Regions from separate parts of the Homo sapiens genome. Here all the other regions are linked to region 4. Evidence: promoter capture Hi-C in 16 types of primary human blood cells and fetal thymus (Javierre and others, 2016). All regions are on one chromosome and are shown on one strand. Each heading gives the region's core, a stretch centred on a gene start or on the middle of the fragment in contact. The rest is flanking DNA. Distances are from core to core; before and after follow the strand shown. Region 1 has its middle 650 kb from the start of GJE1. Region 2 overlaps HIVEP2-DT (HIVEP2 divergent transcript). Region 3 overlaps HIVEP2 (HIVEP zinc finger 2). Region 4 holds the start of VTA1 (vesicle trafficking 1). Region 5 has its middle 230 kb from the start of HIVEP2. Region 6 overlaps AIG1 (androgen induced 1). Region 7 overlaps HIVEP2 (HIVEP zinc finger 2).

What was found. Contacts are between HindIII fragments. The CHiCAGO score rates a contact against its expected background, and 5 or more counts as called.
Region 1: a contact is called between a fragment that was not itself captured here and the fragment with the promoter of VTA1 in region 4, in 1 of 17 cell types (total B cells). The highest score is 5.2, in total B cells.
Region 2: a contact is called between a fragment that was not itself captured here and the fragment with the promoter of VTA1 in region 4, in 1 of 17 cell types (fetal thymus). The highest score is 7.2, in fetal thymus.
Region 3: a contact is called between a fragment that was not itself captured here and the fragment with the promoter of VTA1 in region 4, in 1 of 17 cell types (fetal thymus). The highest score is 5.3, in fetal thymus.
Region 5: a contact is called between a fragment that was not itself captured here and the fragment with the promoter of VTA1 in region 4, in 1 of 17 cell types (monocytes). The highest score is 6.3, in monocytes.
Region 6: a fragment that was not itself captured here is called in contact with the fragment with the promoter of VTA1 in region 4 in 1 of 17 cell types (fetal thymus); the score reaches 5.0 in fetal thymus.
Region 7: a fragment that was not itself captured here is called in contact with the fragment with the promoter of VTA1 in region 4 in 1 of 17 cell types (fetal thymus); the score reaches 5.5 in fetal thymus.

What each region holds. Positions count from the first base shown.
Region 1 is chr6:141,485,652-141,489,918 of GRCh38, forward strand. It overlaps the pseudogene RN7SKP106. Among named protein-coding and RNA genes, the nearest start is that of GJE1, 650 kb to the right of the region's middle. RefSeq lists a silencer at 2,948-3,148. The HindIII fragment of the contact is 2,596 bases long and covers 205-2,800 here.
Region 2 is chr6:142,949,622-142,953,644 of GRCh38, forward strand. It overlaps HIVEP2-DT (HIVEP2 divergent transcript), which reads left to right. Exons shown (of 3, transcript XR_001744397.3): 1 at 1-71; 2 at 527-770. Among named protein-coding and RNA genes, the nearest start is that of HIVEP2-DT, 5.1 kb to the left of the region's middle. The HindIII fragment of the contact is 2,521 bases long and covers 407-2,927 here.
Region 3 is chr6:142,853,119-142,857,287 of GRCh38, forward strand. All of the region lies in intron 1 of HIVEP2 (HIVEP zinc finger 2), which reads right to left. Among named protein-coding and RNA genes, the nearest start is that of HIVEP2, 90 kb to the right of the region's middle. The HindIII fragment of the contact is 1,329 bases long and covers 2,133-3,461 here.
Region 4 is chr6:142,145,087-142,148,954 of GRCh38, forward strand. It overlaps VTA1 (vesicle trafficking 1), which reads left to right and starts at 2,177. Exons shown (of 8, transcript NM_016485.5): 1 at 2,177-2,313. The coding sequence starts at 2,202. NMBR (neuromedin B receptor) reads right to left here and starts at 2,036. Exons shown (of 4, transcript NM_002511.4): 1 at 1,958-2,036. RefSeq lists enhancers at 1,906-2,200, 1,964-2,103, 2,358-2,878. The HindIII fragment of the contact is 1,973 bases long and covers 1,606-3,578 here.
Region 5 is chr6:142,710,207-142,714,345 of GRCh38, forward strand. No RefSeq gene overlaps it. Among named protein-coding and RNA genes, the nearest start is that of HIVEP2, 230 kb to the right of the region's middle. The HindIII fragment of the contact is 259 bases long and covers 2,395-2,653 here.
Region 6 is chr6:143,063,701-143,067,780 of GRCh38, forward strand. The region is part of intron 1 of AIG1 (androgen induced 1); the gene reads left to right. Among named protein-coding and RNA genes, the nearest start is that of AIG1, 4.9 kb to the left of the region's middle. The HindIII fragment of the contact is 795 bases long and covers 1,163-1,957 here.
Region 7 is chr6:142,880,208-142,883,971 of GRCh38, forward strand. All of the region lies in intron 1 of HIVEP2 (HIVEP zinc finger 2), which reads right to left. Among named protein-coding and RNA genes, the nearest start is that of HIVEP2, 63 kb to the right of the region's middle. The HindIII fragment of the contact is 1,776 bases long and covers 902-2,677 here.

The sequences.
Region 1 (4,267 bases), core at 253-2,752, 660 kb before region 4:
AATTATTTTAGTTGCCTACCACACCTAAGAAGATGATTCTCAGGAAGATCTCCAAAATCAATGGGCAAAAACCCATGTCTGCCATTTGTCAAAGCCCACACATTTATCCTCAGCCATGGCATGAGAACAATGGCTTCTGCTCTTCTACAACACCAAGAAATTTTCTCTTATCACTTAGATACAACTGAACCCCAATGGCAATGAAGCTTGTTTCCAGTCTTTATGTCCCTGTGAAATAAGAAACAACTTACAAATTTAGAGATGATAATACAGCAACAATATCTGAAAGAACTACACTTGAACACAAGAATTCAAACCCTAAAAGTAATAAAGTAATACCAATAATGATGTTATTTCACATACAGCTGTTCAATTGGATAATCACTGAATTGTCCTTACCGTTTAATTTATTTTTCTCCAGACTTACTCTATATGAACTATTCAACAATAGCAACAAAATAAATCAATAAATAATAAACAAGAGAGGTGAAGAATAATATCATGTGATTGATTTTTCTCTTCTTGAGAGCTTGTTTGGAAGTTCTAGCAGGGAAGCCCATCTACTCACGTGCCCTTGACTGAAGATGGGTCCTTCTCCATCGCGGATGGTCATCCTCTTTTACCGAGCACACAGCTTTGGAAGGAACGCATATGGAGTGGTGAGGAAGGAAGGGAACACCTGTCTAGTCAACCAGATCTGCTGCACCAACCCTGGCAATCAAATGGTTGATAGATGTTGCTCTTAGATTGCCCTCATATCCATAATTTTTCTCTTCTTCTTCTTCTTCCTTTTACCAAAACAACTACAACAACAACAAAACAAATAACTTTAATTTTGAAATGGCATTATGAGAAAAGGGTTCTGTATCGTGCTAATCCTTTTTTTTTTTTTTTTTTTTTTGAGACAGAGTCTGGCTCTCTCGCCCAGGCTGGAGTGCAGTGGCGTGATCTCGGCTCACTGCAACCTCTGCCTCCTGGGTTCAAATGATTCTCCTGCCTCAGCTTCCTGAGTAGCTGGGATTACAGAAGCTCACTACCACGCTCAGCTAATTTTTGTATTTTTAGTAGAGACGGGGTTTCACCACGTTGGCCAGGCTGTTCTCGAACTCCTGACCTCATGATCCGCCCACCTCAGCCTCCCAAAGTGCTGGGATTACAGCTGAGCCACCACACCCAGCCTGTGCAAATACTTTTTATGAGGAAATCATAGAAAAAGTATCTGTTAGTTGACAGGCAGTATCCATATTACAGTGTTTGGTTTGAGCACTTGAGTTGTTCTGAAGCTAGGTTACCATGAAAATAAATACAGTGATACTTGGAATCAGAGAACACATATGGTCAGCATTTTCCAGATGGCATATTTATGTCAAATGTATAGACATTATAAGAAAAAATATTATAAGTCAATATTAAGAAGACTCTCTAAATATTTAGGTAAATACAATGCACTGTTCCCTCCGCCCAGAAATAGAGTATGATCCTGGCACCTTGCCAAGAAACACATAGAAATATCCTTGTACGTTGTGCTTATAGTAGATAATCTGAAAAGTTTCATCCAAATCTTAAATTCTAGATATGAATAGTTTGTAATAAAGTGTTAGAAGGATCAAGATTAAAAATTATTTGCATATGGTTCCCAACGCCTCTTAGTAATCAGTGGATGATAAGTTCCTTGTAACTTATTTTAATAAAAAGTCTTGAGTACAGAATGTGAGTATATTATAGACTAAATATTTATATTCCTTCCCCCAGATTCATATATTGAAGGCCTAACTGCCAATATGACTGTATTTGTGTATTTGGGGAAGAAGCCTCTACAGATATAATTAAGGTTAAATAAGATCATTAAATTGGGACACTAATCCAATAGAAATAATGTCTTTATAAGAAGAAACACCAGAGAGAAAAATAACTTTCTCCTCTCTCTCACTCTCTCTCTTTCTCTCTCTCTCTAGCTGTCTCTCCAGGAGGACACAAAGAAAAGATCAAGACAGCATGTAGCAAATGTAGCAAGGAGGCATCCAATCATCTGCAACCCAAGGGGCAAACCCTCGCCACACACCAACCCTGCTGGCTCCTTGCTTTTGGACTTCCAGTTTCAGAATTATGAGAAAATACATTTCTGTGTTTAGGCCATCAAGTCTATTGTATTTTGTTCTGACAGCCTGAACAGACTAATACACAGTATAATACAATTGAATTGTTGATTCATCTAAGAAATATATAATTTCTACATGGTTTGTTGCAATTATCTGGGAATAAATATTACCATGACCACTTATTCAGAACTTGATATCTGTATTTATTTCTAAGCATGCATATAATCCCATTACTTGGTAGTCATTTGAATGTATGTTCCACACTTACACCAAAAAGTGATAATAGTATTGACTTCATATAAGAAGTCTTGATAGTCAGTAGTATTGACTTCACATAAGAAAATATTATAAATTAATTCCAATTCCAATTTATGAAGATATTATAAATTTAATATCTCTGAATGTAAATTCTCGGTTGTTCTAGATATAAAAATAAATTATTGATTTATTTTGCTAAGCTACTATAAAACACAATAAAATTTAAAAGCCTCAATTTTGCTGATTGTTTACTATTACAAATCATGCTGGAATGGACATTCTCATATTCTGTTTAGTCTTAATCCTTCCCCCACCAAATCCAATGGAGTCAAGGATTTGGACACAGACACTTTATTTTGAAGTTGATCCCAGGCACCAAAAATGAGAAAAGAAAGAAAGGGAAATAGGTAAGAGAAAAGGGGCAATAAAGTTACGTCTTAACAAGCTTGAGTACCACAGTTAACAACTGAGTCACAATCCCACTGGGGATTGTAAGGAACATACCTTGGGTTAGTTCTACCCCAGTACAAGGAAGCTACAGGATTTAGCCATTGCCTTTTAGCCCCAATTGTTGAGGATTTCCCTTAAGTAGTGTTAACACAGGCACATACTGAGTGTTCCTGTGTCCAGCATTTCTATCTCATTTGTTTTCAGAGAAACGGCTTAAGTGGAGAAGGGTGATGCAGAAACAGGAAGTTACAGTCTAGCAGCAGGTCAGTAGCTGTTTAAAGGAGCAGTAGGTGAACTCATCAGGCCAAAGGGACAGGGAGCATTTACTAAATTTGCACATATGTAAGAGTTTCTCTAGTGTACACATTCAGTAATGATTTCATTACTGAGCTGTCTATGGCTGTTTCTTCAACCTTATAAGATATTGCTACATTGCTCCTCAAGGTTGTGCTGCCCAAAGACAATCCTGCCAAAATAATGAAATGTTCCAGTGGTGTAAAATTTTTATCAGTATATATATAATGGTTATATATATATGTGTGTGTGTGTTTGTGTGTGTATATATATATGGTTAAAATAATATTTTTATCAAATATGTATATACAATTTATGATATAAATTATAAATTATGGTAAAATTATATATTATTATAAACATACATTATAATGTATTATATACATAATTTATATATATATAAAAACCATTTTTGAGGCACTGTTTTTCTTATCAATCCATTAGTTCTTAAACTTTAAATTTTCAGTGTCTTTTCTATATTTTTATTTATTTGTTTTCTGTGCATATTGATTAATTAGATGTGGGGAAGACTAGTTGGGTGTTTTTAAAAATAATAATTCTAAACACATAAGCAAATTGAGAAAAAAATCAGTATTCTTAGACTTTTATAAGTAAGCATATCAGGTAAAGGTTGACCCACAGTTAAACATTTTAGGTCTTTTAGAAAACTCCAAGTAAAAGTTAGATAATTTATCCCTCAGAATTAGATAAGTAATTTTGCCTGTCATGATTATAAATCTGTGCATTGAAATATTTTGACTTTTTATTTGCTAACCCAATGTGACTTGGTCCGCTTTCTAGTGCTATAACAGAATACCATACCTGGGTAATATTTATGAAGAAAAGAAGTTTATTTTGTTCAAGTTTCTGGAGACTGAAAAGTGCAAGAGCATGGTGCTGGCATCTGGCTAGGGCCCTCCTGCTGCATCATCCCATGGCAGATAGGCAGAAATGCAAGAAAGCAGACAAGACAGAGAAGGGGCCAAAATAACTAACCCACTCTCATGATACAGACCTAATTTATTCATGAGGGAAGAGCCCTTATGACCTTATTGAAAGTTCCCACCTTTTCAATGTTGCTGCATTGAGGATTAAGTTTTCAACACACAAACTTTGGGGGATGTACTAAAACCACAGCACAAGGTAACATATGTGTTAACTTACAG
Region 2 (4,023 bases), core at 417-2,916, 800 kb after region 4:
CCCTGCTTTCTTGGAGCTTGCATTCCAGCGGGAGGAGAGGATTTGGAGGAAGAATGGGATAGACAATAAATGTAAGTAATAAATTATATAGGACTTTGAAAGGTAAAATGTTTGGGGGAAAAACATAAAATAGGGTAAAGGATATAGGTGGGGTGAGGGTTGTCCTGATGCTGTATTAAATAGGAACATCAGAGTAAGACTTGTTGAAAAGGGAGATTTCTGCCATGGTTTGAAGGAAATACCTGGAGATATCTGGAGGACAGAGCTTTTCACATGGAGGGAACAGCCAAGATACAGCTCCAATACCTGGAATTTTTATAGACATCAATGGGAATGGTGTGGCTAGAATAAAATGAGACAGCCAGTGAACAGAAGGCCTCTCAGGTCACCGTAAGAATTCCAGAAAAGCTTCATAAAAGGCAAATTTTGGGCCTTTATCACTCAGCCCCATGGAATCTGAATCTTTGTGGGCCCAGGACTCTGCATTTTTAACATGTAAAGCAATTGTTACTTATGTATTCTAAAGCACAAGACCTCCTGCCACAGAGCATGGGACCTGATATATCCAGGCAGGAGAACTGGGTACCAGGAGACACTGTACATGAAGTTTCCAGAACCAGCCATGTCCATCTTACTAATCAAGACTCTCTCTGTTAAATCTGCAACTCAAATGACTTTAAGGAAAAATGGATTTCATTGATTCACATAACCATCACTCAAGGACTAACTTTCAACATAGTGAGATCCTGAGGCTCAAATATTATTACCCGGTAAGGCCTTCTCCATCTCTGTTCTTATCTCTCTGCTTCACTTTGCCCTTCAGGCAAACATTCTGCAGGTTGGTGGCAGCATTCCCAGATTATCTTCTTCCTAGATAAGCAACACAGCAGGAAAAGACCTTCTTTCCAGATAGCTCAGGCAGCCTTAGTCATGTCATTGCACCTGAACCACTTGCAGGTCTTGGGTGGAGTGATCTGATTTGGTCATGACTAGACCTGAAGAGGAGAAGGTCCTCATGGGGAAAAAAAAAAAAAAAAAAGCTGTTCCCAAAAGAAAGGAGTCTTGCAGACCAGGGGGCGGAAAGTATCCACTATATCCCTTAAGTCTTTTGGCTTAGGTTTCCCTATTTTTTATAACTAGGGATTTAGTCAAGATGATGTGCCTAATTTCCTATAAATTCTATATAAATCATTGTAATAAAGTCCCCCCATAAAATTGTGCAAAATGAATTAACTGGCATGCCACTCTCTCAGATAAATTTATGGTACTATAAATAAGACATTAAAGGGGTTACCTGCTATGGGATTCTGATGAATAAATAGAATATAGCCTTAGGTCTTAATAAAGAGTAATGACTTAGAACTGCCTTTCTGATGGATCTCTTGCTTCCTACTTATCTGCTTTAATTAGTATATGGAGGAAAATTAAGCAGTGTCATGATTCATGTGATGTTAAGAATACATAGGTCCCCAAAAATTAGTTGAAGAAAAGAATTTGGAGGGAAAATCTGCATGTCTGTTGAATCGTCAATAGGATACAAATCCAATCATTCTAATGTAGACAAGTCTTTTGATCCCACTATACATCCTTTGGCTCAGGAGTGGAGGGTGATAGTGGTAATGAAGGACCGATCAGCCAGAGCCATACTGTGATTCAAGATGACATCTGTTAGGATTGAAGGATAAAGTGCTTACCCTCATGGGTTTTACAAGGCACACAGAGCATGCAGACATCCAACTAACCAAATGTCACCCTGTATTCCAGAGTTGCTCGGAATATATTCCAAAGACCACTTGTAGCAATATCTCTTGCAATGCTCAATTAAAAGCCTGGGCTACCCCCTAGATTTATAAAATCAAAATCCTCAAAATTAGGGCCTGGGAAACTCCATGTGAATAAGATCCCCGATGACTTCTATTCTCATTAAAGTCTGAGAAGCATCCCTTTACATACAATTTCTAGCTCACTTTGTCCCTCAGATTGAATGGGGGCTGGCTGGCTGAGAACTCCCTTCTTCCCTGTTTGTCACATTCTTCAAATTTCACGTGATCCTTTATGACAAGTTGGTCTCTTTTTCTCCTTTAAAGATATTCATGTGGCTCTTATTTTAACCAGATTTCTTCTGTACAAAAAATATGTCAGGAAAGAAATGATCCCATGAATGATCCAGCCCTGGGGATGAGAAGGGTGCAGGGGAAGGAGGGAATGGTGGGCACGGAATATACGAATGCATAGAGGGCGCGAGGGGAGGGAGAGGTCAGCTGTGGGGATGAGCAAGATGCAAGCAAACTTTGATGGTTTTCTAGCTTAGCTTAGGACCAACCCTGCCCATAGTTTATGGAAGGATACTGCATGTTTCTTCAGTCCAATCTGCTGTGAAATGCTTGTTATATTCTAGAGAATGCTCAAGGAATGCCCAGTCAGGCCTTTATTCTGAGGAAGCTCACTGATGTCTCACAGATAACCTTCTTAAAGATGAACAAATATCAGATACAGGAGCAGCCAGTAAGACTGTCCAGGATTACCAATGCCTGAACTGCCACCTTAGATACAGGGAAATGTAGGCTTATGATACAATGTTAGCAATTTAAGAGCACCACATTAACATCATCCCCCATCCTACTTTCTTCCATCACCCTCCCCCAACTCCAAAATTGGTTAGAACTGAAATTCCTCCACTTAACAGTCACTGCTTGGGGTTAAGGCTCTGCCTCTGTAGAAATCTTCCCGTACAAGCTAACTACAAGTGGTAGGCTCTTCTTATCCTAAGCTCTTAATCAGTCATTAACTTCTTATGAAAGATTAATTTATTAGATTGCCTTACAGAGTGACAGCTAGCTTAGTGATCAAACTGATTTATCTTGACAAAGCATAGAATGGAGATAATATAGGAAGGTCTGGAGGGGGAGTGAGACAGAGAGATCCAAAGCTTGGACCAGACTGACATGGGCACACTAGGGCAACTAGGAATAGGATACAAATTGAAGGGGAAAGGTGTGAAACGATGAAGGGAAAGGCAAACGCAAAAGCCACTGTCTTTGGACACAGAGGATGCCTGTGCTCAGGGCCTGTGGAGTGGGGCATGATGATCCAGGCTTTTTAGGCAGAAGCTGGGTGGCTCTGTCAGCCCAGAGTGCAGGTGCTAGTCCTGACTCTGAGCTAGCGGGAGACCTGGGTCCCCTCTCTTAGCCTCCACTTCCTCATTCAAGCAACTAGGGGATTCCCTTTCAATCATAAGATTCTGAAATAGAAACTCCTAACAATCTAGCAGGGACAGAGAAGGGGAAAAGAAGAGAGGGAGGCATGAAAAAGAAAAATAGCAGAGAGAGCTTATCAAAGTCCAAATTCCTCCCAAGCTCTTGCAGTGGTTTCTTAGGGTAAAACATAAATTTCCAATGTTAAAGAAATGAGAGTACATGGGCAAGGTATAGTAGGGGGTTTCAGAGAATAGTGATTTTGGTTTAAACATAGGCTATATAAATTTGGCATACTATATGGTCCGAAAGGAGAAGCGTTGTTTCTCATTGTCAGCCATAAAACACTTTGGGAAAAATGTATTTTTCTTGATTAGTACCTAAGTCCTTGAACTTTTAGAATTCCTGAGAACAGTGACTTGACCCACTCCCAATTTATCTATTGATGTGATATCTGGTAGATCTGACCCTCTTTTATATAGGTTTGAACCTTGAGTTTAGGGTAGTAAAACAAAAAAAGTAAAATAGTTGTCACTAAGTTTGTGCAGTGATTCAGGCCCTGACCTAGAAATTATATGTAAAATAAGGTAGCAAGTTGGAAGCATCGAAGAGAAAATGAGCAAGTAGAGGATATTATTTCTGATCCAGAGGAGGCTGCTCTCAGCAAACAAGAAGATAACAAAATTATGCAGATGCGAAGCAGGGTGGGTTTACTTAGCTGTTACTGGGGTAACAACAGAGTCATCGCTGAAATAATCCCACTCAGTCATCCATGTGCTTCATAAACCCAAACAACAGAGAGACTAGTGTGTCATAGCAATACACCTTG
Region 3 (4,169 bases), core at 1,547-4,046, 710 kb after region 4:
CTCTCTTGGCAGATTAAGTTCATTTGGCACAGATTTGTACACAAGATCATGTCCAAAAGGAATCCAAGGAAATTACCAGATATCTATTTTTTTTTCCACATCAGAGAAGCAAACCCTAGCTAATCCAGCTTGTCTGCCCTCTGAGCCTGGGGCTTAGTGTGAGAAGTTACACTCCCAGTAGAGAAGGGACTCTAAGCTGGCTACCCAAAGGGTCTCCCTGTGGTTTCGATAAGAATTCACTTGTAACAGGTGCTAGCACCTGTTCTTCCGGCTCCCAGAATAGTTCCTACTTAAAATGAATCATACTCTAACAGTTCACTTTTAAGCTTACTATTTGAAATTTGGAATGTGTTTCCCTCTAAAACCAGTGTCATAAATACTGGTTGGCATGCAAGGCCACCCTTCAAAAGCCTGTATAACCTGATTTAGAATTCGCCTAAGGCAATGTAATAAGAGCAACATAGAACCTACCCACCTTAGATGGCATAGCTTCTTGTCAAATAGTCACACTGAGAAATTGAGTCAATAGGATATGAAACTGCCTTTTCCTACAAGGACCGTAAAAGTCTAGGTGAAACTCTAAGAGGTAAATAACAAAGTAAGAATAGCAAGACACAGATGGGCCAGGGGCATCAGTAGGAAGAATCTCAGTGGCTCTTGTCTTTTGTCAGGGCAGCAGTGGTGGTCCAGGCATTGGTAGCAGCAGAGATGGCAGAAGAATGGAAAAGAAAAGAGGGCAGGGAAAATAAGTGAATCAGAAGCTAGAGCAGCCTTTGAAAAGGGAGTGTCCTAGAATTGAGGGCAAGAGAATTGAGGAAGAGAAGGGAATTCCTACCACAAGGCAACCGGGGAATTCCCTGGTTGGGGTTGCCATTCACTCTGTCACTGACTGGGAATATTCACTGTTTAGTCACATAATGTTCTCAGTCTTTGTTTCTTACTCTGGTTTCTTAAATTCAAGCTCTGTGTTGTTCATAAAAACCCGGTTCAGGCTGGTGGCTGTGCCATCCCCCTCAGATTTATTGTTAGCCTGTGGTAGTTCTCAATTAGGGTGATTCTGCCCCCTTAAGAGACACTAGGCAATGTCTGGGAGTTCTTTCTGGTTGCCAAGACTGGGAGTGGGAAGGGGTATGCTATTGTACCCTGGTGGGTAGAGGCCAGGGATGCTGGTAAGTATTCTACAATGCACAGGATAGTCGCCCACAACAAAGACTTATCTGGCTCCAAATGCCTAACCATGCTGGAGCTAAGAAAACCGGTAACATTGTAACTCTGCTGCAATAACTTTTTGGTACATGTCACTAGGCTCCTGATGTTTAAGCAAGTGATTATAACAAAAATCCTTTAGACTAATTGTATTACTCAAACTTCATCCTAAAGATCGTGCTCAACCAAGAGAAATTCTACAAAAAAACCCATAGTATTCTTCAGAATTACAAAGTGTGACATTTGTTTTTTAATTGAAGATGTCCAATCAAGACAGCCGAACTTTAGGAGGCTGGCAGAAAGGGCACGGGATGAACTTGGTATCACCTGAATGTAACTGAAATTTTCCAGGGAAGGCACTGCACAAACTCCTCTGTGAATGTGAACCCTGCCACCAATGCCACATCCTGCTTCTTAAGCTTTTCCATAAACAGCAGCTGTATTCCTCCCCAAGCATCAAATGACAACCCAGGAACATGCACACGTTCCTGAAATGCTCGCAGCCACCCAGTATTAAAGCAATAATCTCCCCCAGGGAAAAGTCCTACTGGGCCGGATGTAGGAAAAAGAATGAAAGCAGGCACAGCTTTCAGGTCCACTCCACCACAAATGACTCCATGACCCGGGCAAGGAACGTTAAGTAACTTCTTTCTGGTCCTTTTTTTCCTCAACTAAAAGCAGAAAAAGTTTGGCTTAGTCATCTGCAACTTCACTTTCAGTTCTCACCACCATGCTGGTTTTCTTCCCAAAAGGTAAAGAGAAGGGAATTGGCTCCAAAGAAAGTAGGTAAGAGGGAGCTTATGAAACCCGCTTCATTAAGGGTCCCAGTCACATGGAGTGTCTGTGGGCTACAATAGATGAACCACCCACGTGGTAAGTTCACCCACAAGAGCAACTTTTTTGAACACAGGCAAAAGCTGACCCCAAGCTTGATAGGCGAAGTCTCCACTGAGCTCCAGGCCACATGAGAAATGCTGACTGTGAGGATGAAGGACCAATCTTTGTGTGTGCACAGCAGGGAAAGGACTAATCATTCCACACTGGCCTCTTCCGCTACAACCTTCTGTACAAGTAACCGTCATCCCCAGAGCACCATCTTATCATTAGGAAGGACAGAAGAAGAAGAGTACAGTGTGTTTTAAACTGTCTTTGTGTTATAATAAAAATCACAAACAAAAACAAAATGGGCACAAACAGTATGAATTTGAGGAGCCTTTAATTTTAATGGGCAAATACTTAATGTATTAATAACCACGTGGTAGAAACCAAAATTAGTTCTGGGGAACCTCTCAACTATACTGAATTATCTGCTGAGATAGGTTTTGTTCATGGATCTACAATAAGAAAGGAATCTGTTTTCCTGAGTCTCCCCACTGAGTTTTTTATGCAGTGCTTCTGTTCATATGCTTAAGTGAGCCATTTAAAAGGAAGAGTGTCAACGTTGGACTCAGGCTTTACTGGTATGAAAGTGTAAAATTATATTTGTATCCACAGATTTCCAAAATCTCAGTATGCAAACTTATTAAAAATACACTATGGTGGAGGCATATATAAGAAGTGAAAGTATTCTTTCACTTATTTCTTATTACTGCCAGTTCAACATTATCACAAGCTCACAGGGCTATGTTTTCCCAACTGAAACACCAGGATGTTAATGTGTCTGAAATTTGAGACCTTCTGATAAATTATGCTTGTTTGCTGGTTTTGTTGTTTTTTGGTGTGTTTGTTTTCAGTAAAAGCTGGCACTTTATAAAATATCTGTCTTCAGTATTTGACAACGCTTGACAACCATTCTCTCGTTACTTTTTACCACATCCTGGTAAGGGGGAAATGGCAGGTAACTGCATCGCTTTTCACTAAAAAACAGACAGCAAGGGGTTAAAAAAAAAAAGAAAAGGAGAATTTATGTCTCCCAGTTCCACCTACTGCACCACTTTAATATCCAGGATTCTCCCCAAGCCATTCCCAGAGAAAAAAGTGAAAAGAATCTCCTTTGACTTGCTTGGGTCACTGCCCCCAAGACACTGAAGACTCAAAGATACTGAAGACTTCAATGTACAATACATTGGTGGTGAAACTAAAAGTCATATGCAAGGAGTTGACTCCCCTCTCACTGCAAATAATTCTAACATGACCGATGTGCTACAGAAATCAATAGCAGTAATGACTACCTTTTTTGGAACTGCCTCAGCAGTCAGCTGGAGAGGGGGCCTTGCTAAGCCCAGGCACACTGCCTGGATCAAGCACTGAAATCAAGCTTCACAAAAGAGAAGCGTGAGTAATTTACTTATTAAAGAGATAACTGTAAAGTCTGATACAAACAGACAAGCGTAAAGCCTTCAATGCACAAACCAAATGCTTGGCTTGGAGACCATAAAATGCAATCAGCAATGAAATCTAGGTTATATCACTCAACTTTCAAAAGTCTAATGCCCCTTTTTATCCTTAGAAAGATGACACAAAGAAATGACCTGTGAGGGAGACTTCTGGTTAGCAGGGGCTCCCCAAAGACACTGAGCCCACAGCAGGAAGTGGAGGGGAAACCTCAGTGACTGGTCCGAGACCAACCTGGACTTCCGTGTAAGGTACAATGCAGATAAAGGGGATTACTGTACTTCAAGTGGGTTCTGAAGCATTCTACATTATTCAAAAGGACAAAAATCTAGTCAGGTGTTGCCCAAATGGTCTCCTCTGTGATCATTTTTCTCATGTTGTTCAGAAACGTAGTGGTGATAGTGCATTTGTGAGACTCTGTGGCCAGGAAACAACATCTCTGTAACCCCAATTTTAAAATCATGACTTCACTGTCACCAACCAGCGAATGCCAAAAATAAAAAGGTAGAAACATCTAAAACGCTGTTAGAAAGTGAAGCTTGAGTTCATGAGCAAATTAGAAAAAAAAAAAAAGTCATTTGCCATCAGATGTTGTCTGTCAACTTAAAAAAAAATCCAAATAAAAAGAG
Region 4 (3,868 bases), core at 927-3,426:
GCATGTGTTGGCAGATCAGAGAGTAAAATCCAACTCCAACCATTTCACTTTCTTATTTTTCCCTCAGTCCTGCTCATGAGGGTATGCAAATAAGAGTACACATGAATGTATGCAAATGAGAAAGAGTGGCAAAATTCACTTCTGAAGGGGGAGATCAGGAGAGTAACAGGAGGGTGCAGCCTTCTACCAGGAAGAGGAACATTTGTTTCTCAGACATAAGATGATGGAATAGAGAAAAGATAAAACATAAGATCTAGAAAGACATCATAGTCAAGTAGTAATGGCTAGGTGCACAGGCTCTGAAACCAAAATACCTAGATTTTAATGTGGAATACTCATCCTTCCTGGCTGTGACCTAGTGCAAGTTATCTAGATTCTATGTGTCTTATTTTTCTCATCTGTAAAATAATAATGATATGTTCCTCATAGGGTTGTGGTGCAAATTAAATAAATTAATATAAAGACCCTAGAAACATGCATGATACATAGTTGATGCTCAGCAAATGCTGCTAGCTAGTTATTATTACTTTAAGTTGTGGTAGAGGCAAGGCAAAATAATTCATATCTGGTGGTGGCCTTAATCTCAATAGCAGGAAATGCTGTTGTAGACCAAGGAAATTGGGGCTGAGTGCCTAGCTTGAATAGAGCGAGAGAAGTTTGAAACACCATCTGTGGACTACAGCACTGGTCCTTAACCCTAGACGTAACATTAAAATTACATGAGGACCTTTTAAAGATACTGACATTTAGGATCCCACCTAGAACAATTAAGTGAGAATGCCTGGAGTGGGCTTTAAAGTTGATCTTTAAGGGCAGCTGCGGTTGAGAATCAAGAAGTAATAGGAAACAAATAAATGAAAAGTTGTGAGTATAGAAAGAAAACAGTTATGGTTATCCAACTCTGCTTTTCTTCATTGATTTCTCTACCAATCTAGCAACTTTTGACTGGAAAGTCCAAATAGTGGGAGTAAGAGAAAGAGAAAGAAACCATACATTCTCCAGTGGTAGGAAATATGCCGCTGAGATTGGGGAAGAAGACAGAACTGAGTTTCAGGCTGAGTAAAAAAGCCCGACCCAGAATAAGATGATGGACTTTGCAAATAGGTCTAGGCAACGTATGTGGAGTGGGATAATATGAGGACATGGAGCGGTTTCTTCTGGGGGTGAGAGAGTGATCAGAAAATAGTAGGCAGAGGGGAATTTCCGAGCTGGAGATTTTGGCTCTTGGGGATAGTGTGATTTCAGTGAAAACTAGTTTTAAGATGAATTGTCAAAACTGAGGACTGAGATAAAATAAAGAAGGTTATTGGAGGAAGTAAATAAAGTGTACAGTCCTGAAAGATATAAGTAAGGGATGGAGAGGAGAGGAAGAGAATTGAAGTCATTGAGGGTAGAAGGAAAAGTGATGCCTACTGTACAATGGTTAAGAGTTACCAGCGTTGAAAACGTCCCAAACACCCTATCTTACATTAAGACAAGATAATAAATATGAAAATACTTTACAAATTGTTAATCACTCTCCAGAAAAAAAAAAGGTGATCTACAGATTATTCATTCACTAAAATACGTACTAGCCAGCTGAGAACAAAAGTTCAATCTTCTTTAAGCTTCATATGTTTAGCTTAATTTGGCGCGAAATCTGATTATTTTATCCAGTATGTCAACATAGAAAAATTTAATTTACAATTTAAACACATTATTTCTCTCTCATGCAAGTATTGAAATTAAAGTTTCTAAAATCAAAAAGGCTTCTAAAGGACACTGCTATATGGAATATTAATGTGGCATATTAACTGGAAGTGGTAATTCCTGAATGACGCCAAAGGCAATTCTCGCCTTTATACTTTCTCCCAGTCAACATACATTATTTTCTTGTTTTTCCTTTTCTATCCTTCCTTTTGCCACAAACAACAAACCAAACAAAAAAGCAAAACAAAACAAAAACCCTTCCTCCTACCAGCAGAGAGCGCTAGCGCCATGCGCGGCATAAGCGCCAAAATGCTCGGGTCTTCTGTGGGTTCTAACCGCCGAGAGCCAAGCACCCTGAGGTTGTCCCAGCTGGGGATCCGTAGTTGACTTGACGTCGCTGAGCAACGGAAGAGTGGGCAGCATTTGCTCTGAACGCTCGTGCGCGCTACCGCCCAGACGGAAGCGGAAGTGCCGGTGGAGCGCGAGTAGGAAGTGGTGAGTTCGGAGTAGAGATGGCCGCGCTTGCACCGCTGCCCCCGCTCCCCGCACAGTTCAAGAGCATACAGCATCATCTGAGGACGGCTCAGGAGCATGACAAGCGAGACCCTGTGGTGGCTTATTACTGTGAGTCTTTCCGAGTGGCCGCGCCCTTTCTTTCCCAGTTGCATTTTAGGGCCCACACACCTCCCTGAGGTTCTTGGGGCATGCCCCGCCCCCCTCGCTTTAAACCTGAGCTTTGACCTCGAGCCTACCCAGGGAACTCCCTGGGTTCCCACCCCCTGGCAGTAGGAATCCCAAAACACCATGGTGTCCACTGCTTCTCCTATCTTGTGCTTAAATGCTCCAGTACTGACTACACAGGCTCTTGAACTGTGGAATATAATCTTCCAAGGTTTTCTCTGTGTGTGTACACACAAGAGCTTCTTGTCTCAAATAGGAATCCTGAAAATAAATTGAGTTAGGTTTAAAACGAAGGTGAGTGTCCGAAAGAAGGAGTGATGTGGATAAAAGGACGATAGACTAGTTGAAAACATAGTAATAAGTGAATATTATTTATGACAGCATGCAAGCCCAATCAGAAACTCATTTGGTTAAATGGGGAGTATCTGCTACTAAATAAGCAGTTGAATTTGACCTTTCCCCACCCAGCTGCTCTCTCCTACCATGCAGAATTTTTAGTTTTGACTTCTTTGAATAATACCCGCTGTTGAGACCTTTGAAAGCAGTATTTTCACTTTGAGTGTTATACGTTGAATTTACAGTTTGATTAAAAAAAATATAGGTTAACTCTGCTCAAACTTGTAGTGAGTAAAGGGAGTGCCAGTAATTCTGTGTTAACTTTATTTTGTATTCTGTACTCTTAACTTTACTGCAAATAAAACAAGTAACTGGACAATTATAATTCTGAAAAGGATATTTAGAGTTGAGAAGTTGGATATAATGCGTCCATTGTTGTGTATATTGTAAGGTTAGCTAAAATCTGGTCACTGTTATCTCTGCCATACTCCAAATGTACCCTGTTTCTCAAATGTGCAAGGCCTTTTCAGACCTACCATCTTCCACTCTCTTGGAATGTGCACCTTTTTCTTGCACTTGGCAAACTCATGATTCAAGATCTAACCCAAATGTCACCACTTCTGTGGGCAGCAAATTGATTATTCTCTGTGCATTACTTCATTTTGTTCAAATTTTACAGCATCATTTTTATTATACTTGTTCTTCAGTTTCCTCAAGCAGGGTCCATATTCATTCAGTATGTGTTCATTGAGCTACCTTTGTATCAAGCATTAGTAGGCGCTGTGACTACATTTGCTGCATTTTTGGAGCTTACATACAATGGAGGTAGAGAGTTTCAACAATATAGAGTCTATCATACATAGAGTATTAAAAGCTTATGAAGACAAATAGAGCAAGGAAAAGGAATAAGAGTATCAGGAGTAGTGGTGGCAGGGAGTGCAGATGGGATTTCAGTTTCATAGTGGTCAGGAACACTTCACTGAATTGACATTTGGGGAAATAAAAGAGTGAAAGGCATACCTTGCACCATCTGGGAAAGAGTATTCTCCATAGAGGTTATAAAAGTCCCGAAGTAGAGGCTTGCTGGAAGGAGGAGTAAGTAGACTATTGTGACTGGAGTGGATGGGGCTTGGGAGTGATGGGATAAGGTCAAAGAATCTCT
Region 5 (4,139 bases), core at 1,274-3,773, 570 kb after region 4:
AGGAAGTCATTAACTACCATCTCCCCTTTACAACTACTAAGAGAGAGCATACCAAAATAATGGTACACTCCCTGCCACCCCCATTCTATCCAGCACTCAACAGTGAGGATCCTGACACTCGGTCCCCTGGGTACAGAAAACAAACTCACACAGTGTTGCCACTGGAAGGTCAGAGCCCTTCAAATCGTATTCCTACATAATCACCTGTTACTTCTTGGCAGGCCAGCCTTTTCTTGACTTCAATTCAGTTATTTGGGCCCTAACTAAAGTGATCTTCCAAGACTGTTGTTTTGGCCTGAAATCCATTGGGTTTAATTGTTTTTAAGGGTGCTAAACACCATATTAAACAGTGTTGACTGATATCTCACTTATTTGAATAACGCCAGTTATCAATGGTTTCATCACGTGAATGGCACGGATCACTCTGCAGACTATGCAGCCTGATGCATAGGAAGGTTCCAAAAGAAATAGTCTCGAGATGGCTTTTGATTTTATTTAAGAGTATGGTGGGCCAGGCGCGGTGCCTCACGCCTGTAATCCCAGCACTTTGGGAGGCCGTGTAGGGTGGATCACGAGTTCAGGAGTTCAAGACCAGCCTGGCCAACATGGAGAAATGCTGTCTCTACTAAAAATACAAAAATTAGCTGGGCATGGTGGCATGTGCCTGTAATCCCAGCTACTTGGGAGGCTGAGGAAGGAGAATTGCTTGAACCGGGACCTGGGAGGCAGAGGTAGCAGTGAGCCGAGATCACACCACTGCACTCCAGCCTGGGCAACAGAGCAAGACTTTGTCTCAAAAAAAAGAAGAAAAAAAAAAGTATGGCATTGAAAGTCAAACTCTCTCTTTTTTTCCAGTAAAAATAGAGAAATTTTAGGCCTCTTCACTTGGAGTTAGGAGGATCCCAGACATATTAGACCAATATCTAAGATTCAGCAAGCTTAAAGTTAAATATGTCTGTGTTAAGGAAATGGATGTCTAACCCCAAGTCATTTCCTTATTTTTTGAAATCCCCTCTGAATTGGGAATGGGCATTCTTATGGGGTAAAGAAAATCCTATGAAATCTTTTTTGAGACAACAGTATCAATTGATAGCTAAGCAGCTGTCCCTCAGATAAGCATTTAAAATCATGGAAATATCCTGAAGGTCCAGGGGAGATGATGAGACATGCTATGTATCATTGCTATTTATAAAGGATGTATAACTTACTTGGAAGTTACCAGTCTGTGTGGGATATGTGAGACCTGAGGAATGGTTCTTCCAATGGCAGTGAACTTCCATTGATCATGGACTTCCTGAGTAACCAGCTGTCTCAAGCCTGCTTCCTCACAGATCTTTCTCCAGGATGCTATCCCAGAATTCCAGTCATGAAGTCACCACTTTGGGATGTCATCTGCTACAAGTTTTTGAGCCAGCAGACCATTGAGCACCTGCCAGTTGCCAAACTATGGATGGCATAGTGCATTTTACTCCCTGCTGTCCCTAGAAGCAGGCACAATGCATTTCCAAGGGCCTGCTCCAAGAACCCCTCTCTTTGTAGTGAATATGCCTAGTTTCCAAATCCTGATCCCTCCTAGTCTGACCGTATCTGCTACCTCTTGAGCCCAATCAATCAAACTCTGTGTGCCTGTGGATATATGTTCATGTGCACACATATGTTCATGTGTGGATGCATGTAAACTCGGAGAATGATACAGCAGAAAATACCTTAACTAATTAGCCCGTATTTTTTAGATCTTCTTTGTCTTGTCCTAGGGGTCCTACAGAACCCCTTTAAGGGCAGAGTAGCTTTAGGAGGAGAAAATGAGGAAACTCAGAAGATTTCAGGGACCCCAAAGCCCCACAACAATTCAGCTTTCTGACCATCAGTTTTACATGTTGACTTTTACAGAAAGAATGTTTTTGAAGAAAGGGCACTCTCACTTTAAGCAACAAAAAGAAAACAACAATGGTTGAAAACCAGAGATTCTAGTCCAACTCCTTTGTTTTACAAGTAAGAAACTCATGAAGAAATGAAGATTGTCCCACAGTCACATAGCTATTTAGCTACAGTTGGAACTAGAACTGAGGTTGATTGATTCCCCAACTGTACATTTTCTATTCACCACACAACAAGGAGAAAGGGAAAAAAAAACAATACTGGTGTGCTTGTTGCATGCATTAGTGATTAGGATATGTCTCGATGACAACCTAGGATTTAAATGCCAAGTGAGAATGTGGGAGTGGAATTGTTCCATCCTATAATGAGTCCCAAGAAATCTTGAGCAAATGAGAGAGTAAGAAAAGGACTGAAATCTTGAGCCAAAGGAAATTCTTTCTGGATGTGTTTGGTAACCTTCAGCCTACATTTTCACTAGTAAAGAGGCAGCATGAATCCTAAATGGTCCTTGTAAAAAGCTTCCAATCAGAAACATCAAGATGGCAAGTCACCTTATAAGCCAGTAGATTTCAGAGCTTCTTGTATATTTGATATTTGTTAAAAGTGTTCATAGAGTTGTGGCAAGGCTTCTGAACAGAATGCAAACTGCATCTGGTCAAGAAAACTCTAGTGAAGAAAGCTACTAAAGCCAATTGGGATGGTCTTACTGATCAGAATCTTTTGTTCATGCAGATATACATGGACCTACAGAATCATGCTGAAAAGGATTCTCCTAAGCTTTAAATCTGTATTTGGTTTGCAGTATGAATGACTAGGAGCAATACTCAATCATGGATGTGGATTAGAATCACCTGGGGGGCCTTAAAAAATACTGCTGCCCAGACTCAACTGAAAAGAATTAGGAATTTCCGCAGGTGAGAGTTGGACATCAGTATTTTTTTAATGTTCCAAATGATTTTAATATATGACCAAGGTCAAGGACCACTGAGTCAGAGGGTTCTCAAAAGAACCCAAAAGATAAGGAAGGAAGAATGAGAGGGAAAGGAAGATTACTGGGTCCCGATCAACTAAAGTGATGCTCTGTCAGATCACTTTTTGTTGTTTGAAGAGCACCCTTTCTCAGCAAACATAAGTGGTGAGTGACCCACATCACCAACAGAACCGTGCTAGGAGCATGTGGCTGCCATGCTCCAACCCTCAAAGCCTCACTACTCCAGTGGGTCTTGCTCTCGGCGTGAAACAGTCTCCAGAATTCTGCCTGAAAGGTAACCACCCAGCTCTCACTCATGACCCCTGCTTCCACTTCTAGGAGCAGCTAATTTTACCCCCATCTCTCAGGAAGACTTGAACCTCTCACTGAAAAGACACCTATCTTTCACCACCATGAGTATAAAAGAGAATGTTCTCATATGCCATTGTTTTTTATGAGTCCCCAATGGAATCCCTCTTGCTTCTTCTCACAGCCTCTGTCTCCAGGTAAAGAGAAAGGAGACTCTTCTGGTAATGGATATTTCTTCTCAACTGAATCCTTTTTTTTTTTTTTTTTTTTTTCATAAGAGACAGGGTCTCACTCTGTTGCCCGGGCTGGAGTGCAGTCACAGCTCACTGAAGCCTCTACGTCCTGGGCTCAAACAATCCTCCCACTCAGCCTCCTAAGTAGCTGGGACCTACAGGCATATGACACCATACCTAAGTTGTTTGCTTTTTGTAGAGACAGGGTCTCACTATGTTGCCCTGGCTGTTCTCAAACCCTGGCCTCAAGGGATCCTCCCACCTTGGCCTCCCAAAGTGCTGGGATTGCAGGCATGAGCCACCAAGCCCAATCTGAATCCCTTTATAACACTTGAATTTCCAGTAGCCAAAAGAAACTCCAAAGACCTCTGCTAGCTTTGGTGAAAGCTCAAATGCTGCAGTCCCAACCCCCTTTAGGGGATGCTGCTCATCACCTGCCGACAATGTCCAAATCGCCTACCCTTTCAGCAAGCAAGCATTCCCTTCACTTAACTCCTCACAGAGCCCAGCACGTTACAAAAATATGGCAGCCTGGCAGCCTGACTTGGTTGAGAGTGCAATTGCTCAGCCTCCTGGACTGCTTGTGTTCCACAGCCCTGACAGCTGTGAATCTGCCCCTGGGAGGGAGGCCAAAGTTCTGAGGGAGGGAAATTGGAAGTGGATTTATCCTCCTATGAATATCATCACACCCTCAATACCTGTGCGGTTTTGTTTGTTTGTTTGTTTGTTTTTCATTAGCAGGAGCTAAC
Region 6 (4,080 bases), core at 310-2,809, 920 kb after region 4:
TTGTAATGTGAAGGCCCTTTTTTCTAGCCAACTTGGATTGCAGGAATCATTTATCCTGATAGCCACAGTTGGATTCCATATTCCATGGCTTCAGTTTACCAGGATCTGAGTCAGGAATCTCAGGCTCTATGCATCCAGGAGCAGATGATTATGTGGCAGTGGCCATTCTGGCTGTATTCATTTCTCTCCTTGGGTATGAGGGTCATTCCAGTAGATTCAGAGCTTATGGTCAAAAACTGAAATACACATTGTTGCTACCAGTAATCTTATACTGTTATTCTCCAATGGTTTCTTTTCCTAGTATTGAGAAACTGTAAGAGAACTAAGGTGTTTTTGGAAAATTGAAGTTAGTAAATGGAAAAAGAACACTGTCTTGGTGTGGTAGGCAGAATAATGGGCCTCCAAAGATGTTTACATTCTCATGCCAGGAACCTGTGAATACATTAGGTTACATGGCAAAGGGAAATTAAAGTTGCAGATGGAATTAAGATTGCAAATCAATTGACCTTAAAATAGGGTAATTATCCTGAGTTATCCCATTGGGCCCAATGTAATTACAAGGGTCCTTAAAAGGAATAGGGAAACAGAAGACAAGAGCTTGTTGGAGGAAGATGTGACTGGAAGAAAGTCAGAGAGAGATACGACAATGCTGGGTTTGAAGATGGAGGATGGAGCCAGGAGACAAGGGGTGTGAGAGGTGTCTAGAAGCTGGAGAGGACAAAAAAATGGTTTTCCTCCTAGAGTTTCCAGGAACACATACCTGCTGACAGCTTAATGGTAGTGTATTTTGGACTTCTGACCTCCAGAATTGTAAAATAATAAATTTGTGTCATTTAAGCCATTCAATTGATAGTAATTGGTTACCACAGTAATAGAAAACTAGTATACTTGGCTTTAAAGCCTCTGACTTAGAAAAAAAACTTAACTCTTTTTGTACTTATATGAAATAAATGCAGTGACTCAGCTAGCCCTTTATGTATAGTAGATAACTGGTTAATTTTAGCTTTAACAAAAATGCAAGTTTTTTCCTACTTCATCCATGAAATTATGTGGAGGAGACATACATATGTGTAACAGTGGGCAATATGAGGATTTGTAAAGACTGGACTGTCAAGCGTGTCTGTGTGAAGAGACCACCAAACAGGCTTTGTGTGAGCAATAAAGCTTTTAATTCACCTGGGTGCAGGCGGACTGAGTCTGAGAAAGGAGTCAGCGAAGGGAGATGGGGAAGGGGTTGCTTTATAGAAGTTGGGTAGCTAATGGAAAATTACAGTAAAAGGTGGTTATTTATTGTTAGCAGAGAAGGGGGTGACAAGGTACATGGTGGGGAGATCATAAGACTTATTGTCCAGAAGAAGAATGTCACAAGGTCGGTTGATCAGTTAAGGTAGGGCAGGGACAAGTCACAACGGTGGAATGTTGTAATGTTGGTTAATCAGTTAAGGCAGGAATTGGCTGTTTTACTTCTTTTGTGGTTTTTCGGTTGCCCCAGACTTCTTGGCTCCTGCAGGCCATCTGGATGTATATGTGTAGGTCACAGGGGTTACAATGGCTGAGCTTCGGCTTAGAGGCCTGACATGGACAACTTTGGAAAAACTAGGTCTTTACTATGAAGTATTTCAGAGACTATCATTAAGTAACATGTCAGGCCAGGAGAAGAAATACACTTAATTGGAAATAAGCTGGAAAGAAAGAAAATTTAAACTAGCTGTTACTCAAATATTAACACTTTCTTAGTCAATATCACAGCTGATGAATTTTCTTCAAGTGATGTGGATTCATTCACTAGCAAAATGATTATGCTGTGTGTTACATGATAATTGCCCCAAAAGATAATAAAGAAGAATTAGGATAAAACCAACATAAATAAATGAAAAGAAAAAGGCAAATGTATTTTGAGGTCTTAAAGTAGTATTTGGGGTATAATAGGTGTTTAGTAAATGTTTAAGTAAATGGAAGCTTTCTCTTCCCAAATTTTCATTGAGTATTCTTTTCTTGTCCTGTCTCCTCCCAAAAACATTCAAAATGATAGGAATTTAAAAATGTATCAACCAGAACATTATTCATATGTATATGGTAGAGTCTAACAGATGAGTCAGAATCAACTTCTTTGAAAACCATGAACTGGATTTTTTAGAAAACTTAAAATATTGATGATGGATGTAAGACATCTTGATTTTTAAAGATTGAAACATATCTGGGAATCCCATTGGCTCTAGTTTGTAGTACTGGCCATTTTGAGAGTCATCCTCTCTTAGGGCCGTATCATACCCATTATTCCTCCTAGACTGGCTTTTCATTCATGTCATGGCAGAATATTGTTCAGGCCCTGCCTACTCAAAGTGCGGGCTGAGGACCAGCAGGATCAACTTTGTCTGGGAGCCTGTAAGAAATGTGGCATCTCCAGCTCCACCCCAGAGCTTCTGAATCAGAGTCTGCATTTTAATAAGATCATCAGGTGATTTCTATGCACATTCAAGGTTGATAAATGCTGCTCTAAGTTGCATTGTTTTTTCATTTACATGGATTAATTGTAGGACCCTGTAGAGCAGTCTTAATATATGAATTCTGCCTATTTTCTTTGTTTTTTTTTTGAGACAGAGTTTCACTCTGTCACCCAGGCGAGTGCAGTGGTGATCTTGGCTCACTTCAACCTCCGCCTCCCAGGTTCAAGAAATTCTCCTGTCTCAGCCTCCCGAGTAGCTGGGATTACAGGCACCTGCCACCACACCTGGCTAATTTTTGTATTTTTAGTAGAGACAGGGTTTTACTATGTTGGCCACACTGGTCTCAAACTCTTGACCTCAAGTGATCTGTCTGCATTGGCCTCCCAAAGTGCTGGGATTACAGGTGTGAGCCACCGCGCCTGGCCTGAATTCTGCCTATTTTCAAAACATATTACAGATTGACTTTCACTGTGATATAACAAAAAAATGTAAGAAATTACAATTTGAAAATAAAAGAAAGATATGTTTCAGATACGAGAGATGGGTTAGTTATTGCTATTGAGAAACAAATTTAAATAATCTTCAGGGCAACTAAGGTGAAAAACAATACACATTTGATTGTATTGTCCTTATGTTGAAAGAAAGGAGGTATAACAATTTATTGGGAAAAATACAGTTCTTTCCAGGCACTGACTTTTCAAGGTAATTTATCACTCAGATATTTATTTAAAGAACATTAAGGGTGGGTATGGTGGCTCACACCTGTAATCCCAGCACTGTGGGAGGCCATGGTAGGAGGCTTGCTTAAACCCAGGAGTTCGAGACCAGCCTGGGCATCACAGCAAGGCTCCCACTACAAAAAATTAAACATTATTTGGGGGTGCTTGCATGTGCCTGTAGTCCCAGCTATGTGGGGGCTGGGGCAGGAGGATGACTTGAGCCCAGGAGTTCGAGTTTGCAATGAGCTATGATAGTGCCACTGCACTCCAGCCTGAGTGACAGAGCCAAATCCTGTCTGTAAATAAAAATAAAAAAAAAACATTGGTTAGCATAGTAGATAATGTCTTTGATTGGTTTTTAGTGTAATATATAGAAAAATTTTTATGGTTAATGTTTCTTATTTGATGGTTTTATGAAAGCCAAAGGCATGGTCTTATATTTTGGCTAGGTGAAGGCATTTTTGTAGAAGTTTAAGGTAATATAATCTAGGTACTTTTTTTGTTATCTAAATCTGTATTGCAAAGGAATTTCAGAAAACCAGAGAGAGATGAGGATAAATAAAGTCTCAGATGTGGAAAAGCTTGGGGTGCTCAAAGAATAGGAAATAGTCAAGTGTACCTGGACGATACCATTTTTGCTTTTAGACATGCTGAGAATTTTTGACATTTAAAAAATGTTAAAGAGGGAAAATAAGCTGCTTAAGTATACTACATTTTGCATTTGAGTTAGTCTTATATTTATTTACATACTTATCATAAAACATATTCTTGTCTCTAGTTCATGACTTAATTTTAAATAGGAAATAAAATACCTTGAGAAGAGATTCTGCATGTCATTATGTAACTATGGTACTTAGTTTTGCCAGTCAAAACCACACATTGCCACGTGAAGGCCAGTAGTTTATTGAGTACTC
Region 7 (3,764 bases), core at 540-3,039, 730 kb after region 4:
CAGAGAACAGTTCCCACCAGCAAACACAGTAGAATGTCAAGACATTTCAGATATTCACCCTCACTAGGACCCAAATTCAATGCTCCTGCCAACAACCCCATAACTTGCACCCTCCCCCAGATGGTGAAGCCACACCAAAAAAATTGACTCCAATGAGAAGGAACAAAGGTCAGAGAGGAATTGGACCCTCCCAGTGGAGACAGCTGAGCCTCAAGTGGGACTGACAGGCAAGCCTTTGCCACCAGACACAGTCACCAGCGTGTCCTACATTGATGACAAAGAAGCCTCTCTTCTCAGGGATCATTACTTGCCTTTAAAAGTCCAGATTCTCTGAGGCCTGGGAGCTTTATACCTTTAAAGGCATTCGGTGTCCTCTCTTTGAGACAGTCTTCCATATCCAAGAGAAAGGTTTGCTTCAGCACTTCATTACAAACGGGGAAAGCTGCCCTACACCTCTGAGATCCTAGTCCAAACCTGTCCATTTGGCCTGCGTGGCTCAGACTCTCTTTGATCAAGTCCCCAGGCAAAGTTCGGCCTACAACTGGGCTCTTCCTAGATTCCCTCCATCCATCAATGCCTTGGCACAATTTGAGGCCACAATCACAACTGCAGGTTCCTCACACCCTCATCTCGACAGAACAGTTATATAAAATAAAATGTGTCTTCTCCCCAGCAGTTCTGGTCTCAGTTACTGGCATTTCCATTCCTTGAACCACTGGGGTTCAGACGTAAGGCATCTTTAACATCTCTAGTACTCAGTTTGGATCAAGCATGAAATGTCATTTTTTTTCCCCATACTAGACTCAAGTTTCTTGAGGAAATAAGTTTTTATCTTATGCTTTATGGTTAAAATGCATAGATCCTCTTTCATGGTTTTACTGTATGTTTCTGAACCTTCTTAAGCTTGTTCCCTCAGGAGGGAAATAAATTCTTTATTGGACTATGCCATGTGGCCTTATGAATACCTCTCCACTCATATAAAACTAACCTAAATAACAGAAGGAAACAATTTTGGATATGGCCTTATCCAGTTCACACGAGTCAGGCTGTGATTTTATGGAAAATTAGGCACTTGTGGGCAATTAGTTGTTTAAATATCTATAAATCATCATGTCAATAATTTTTAAATGTCCAGTTAAAAATTTAAAAGTTTGGAAAGAGAATTTTTTAAGACTAATTCTGTAGCAAGTGAATTAATTCCAAGAAAATGAATGTAGACAACTAGAGCAACCAGATTTGAGACACAGTAAGAATGGCCCTACACATGTTATTAGAGTACATTCCTGTGCATCCTTTAGTTCTGAGGCAATCAGATAGTGTCATCTAACTTTAGTGAAGTTAGAAGAATGCCTTTAATAAAAAGTCTTGGACCTGAGTTCTGTCATCTGTATTCGAAAATATGGTCTCTGAGGTCCTGCTTTCAGCTATCAGGATAGTTAGACCTCACAGATCTCCTTCTCTCTTAGAAAATGTATATTCTTCCAAGTAAAAAGAGTAGAATAAAATATTTCCACTAAAATGCACTTATCTCTACATACTATGCCTCCTCAGAGATCTGTGTCTCTCGCTGAGTTCCCAGTCTCATGCTCTATGAAAGTCCTTCCTAAAAGCCACCATTCAACATGAGCTTCTAGTCCTGCTGACTCAAATGATGACATCTTGTTATAGAAATCTGAGTGCCTCACAGTGGATCTACACATCAGTTACTGATGGCCACTGCCAACCTCTGTCACAGGAAGATTAAGATAACACAGTTAAAGCTGTAAACACTGCCCTAATTATCAGAGTTTGCTACCATTATCAGGGCTGCAGGAGGACTCTACCCAGAGTCATCACGCTCTCTCCTGACATCATATATACGAGGTCAGAGCCTTTCAGCTCCTAAGCCCCAGCAGACAAGCTCCAGTGAGCAGAGCTTATCCTTAAGCCACTGTCAATACAATGTGTAATTTTGAGTATAAAGCCCATCCATTTATTAGGCCTTATATTCTTCATCTATAAGGTGACTACAGTGAAGTATGAAACATTTTAAAACTTGGATAATCACTAAGAAGAATTCCTAAAGCTAAAGAGTCCTTCAATACCGATAACTCACTGATTACATAGAAAAGAAGTAGAAGAGGCAGAGGGCAGTAGCTCATGCCTGTAATCCCAGCATGCTGGGAGGCCAAGGTGAGAGGATCACTTGAGGCCAGGAGTTTGAGATCAGCCTGGCCAACACAGTGAGATCCTGTTTCCACAAAAAATAAATAAATAAATAGCCGGGAGTGGTAGTGAGCACCTGTAGTCCTAGCTACTTAGGAGGCTGAGGCAGGAGGATCATTTGAGCTCAGGAAGTCAAGGCTACAATGAGTTATGATCATGCCACTGCACTCCAGCCTGGGTGACAAAGCAAGACTCTGTCTATAAAAAACAGAAAGGGGGGGAGGGGAGGGGAGGGAAAAGAAAGAAAGAATCATATATTCCCTCTCAGAATGAGCTTTAGCAATGGGTCATTCCATTGTTCTGACAGTGTCAATTAGGAATCTTCCTAATTTTGAGGGTTTCTCTTTATCGTTTACATAACGCTGGCGTAATGTACCTTTAAGAAGGTAAAATTCAGTGTCACATTACCTCAATGTTTTAGGTTGGTTTTTGGTGTTAGCTTCACTCTCCTAAACCCTGCAACACAATAGGAAGCTTAGTGAAAGGACCACATATTAACCAGGAAACTCCATCACCTGCACTGACCAAAGCTGATAAACTAACCACCCATACTACATTCAAATAGTCTGATCATCTATAAGTAATAAAAGTGTCTCCATAGAAACCAAGTATACAGGGAAATCTGCTTACAGTACAGGATCTGCTTGAACAAAAAGACTTCACTTCAAGCCAAGATTTTGCTCTAACTTAGGTTTACACATCATCATACACGGATAGCATTCGATATCACACCTTTGGAATTTCACAGTCCTGAAGATTACAAAAAGCTCTGCACATGGAGAGAGAAAGGGGGGAAAAGCTTTGGGAGAAAAGATTTGCATATGTAGTTACAAAAATACCAAAGCAGATTCCATGCTAAGCTCTGCCAAAAAGAGAACAATTACTGTTGCCCATCAGCACGCAGCCTTGAAATTATATTCTCTTCTCCAAGCAGAAGCAGTCATCAGATTATCAAAATGAGGTTATCCTGACTCAATTCAAATAGTTCTTATATGGAATAAGCACAGTGCAATCAACAGACAAGCAGCTATTTCCTTCCCACACAAACTATAATCTTTTGTGAAATATATTTTTAATGAAGAATACATAACCCTCCTACATGTTTACTTCTGCCCTCACACTCCTACACATAAAAGTGCAAATACATTTTAAAGAAAGGGAGAAGAATTTTATAGCTTCTAATAACATCCCTTACAACGTAGGGCAAAGAACAGTAGCATCTGAACTAACCCTCAAATGAAACTTTTTCATATAGTGTGATGCTTATGAAAGTAAAGCTAGTCTCCAGCAGCTCCTCAGGAAAAGTACAATGAAATCGACATAAACAATGGATCTCACCAATATTTTAATAATTTCTTTCTAATTAGATGCATTGTGAAGGCTTAATTCATTCAACTACTAATAACTCAAAACTCACAGAGCTCTGAGCTTTATCTTTTGCAAATTTCAAATTATAAATTTCTTGTCATGAGTCATTCTGCTACTCAAGAAGCAAGTTTTCAAAAGGAAGGTTTTTCTTTTTTGTAGGTAACATTTATAGTGACAGTCATTTTTCTTTC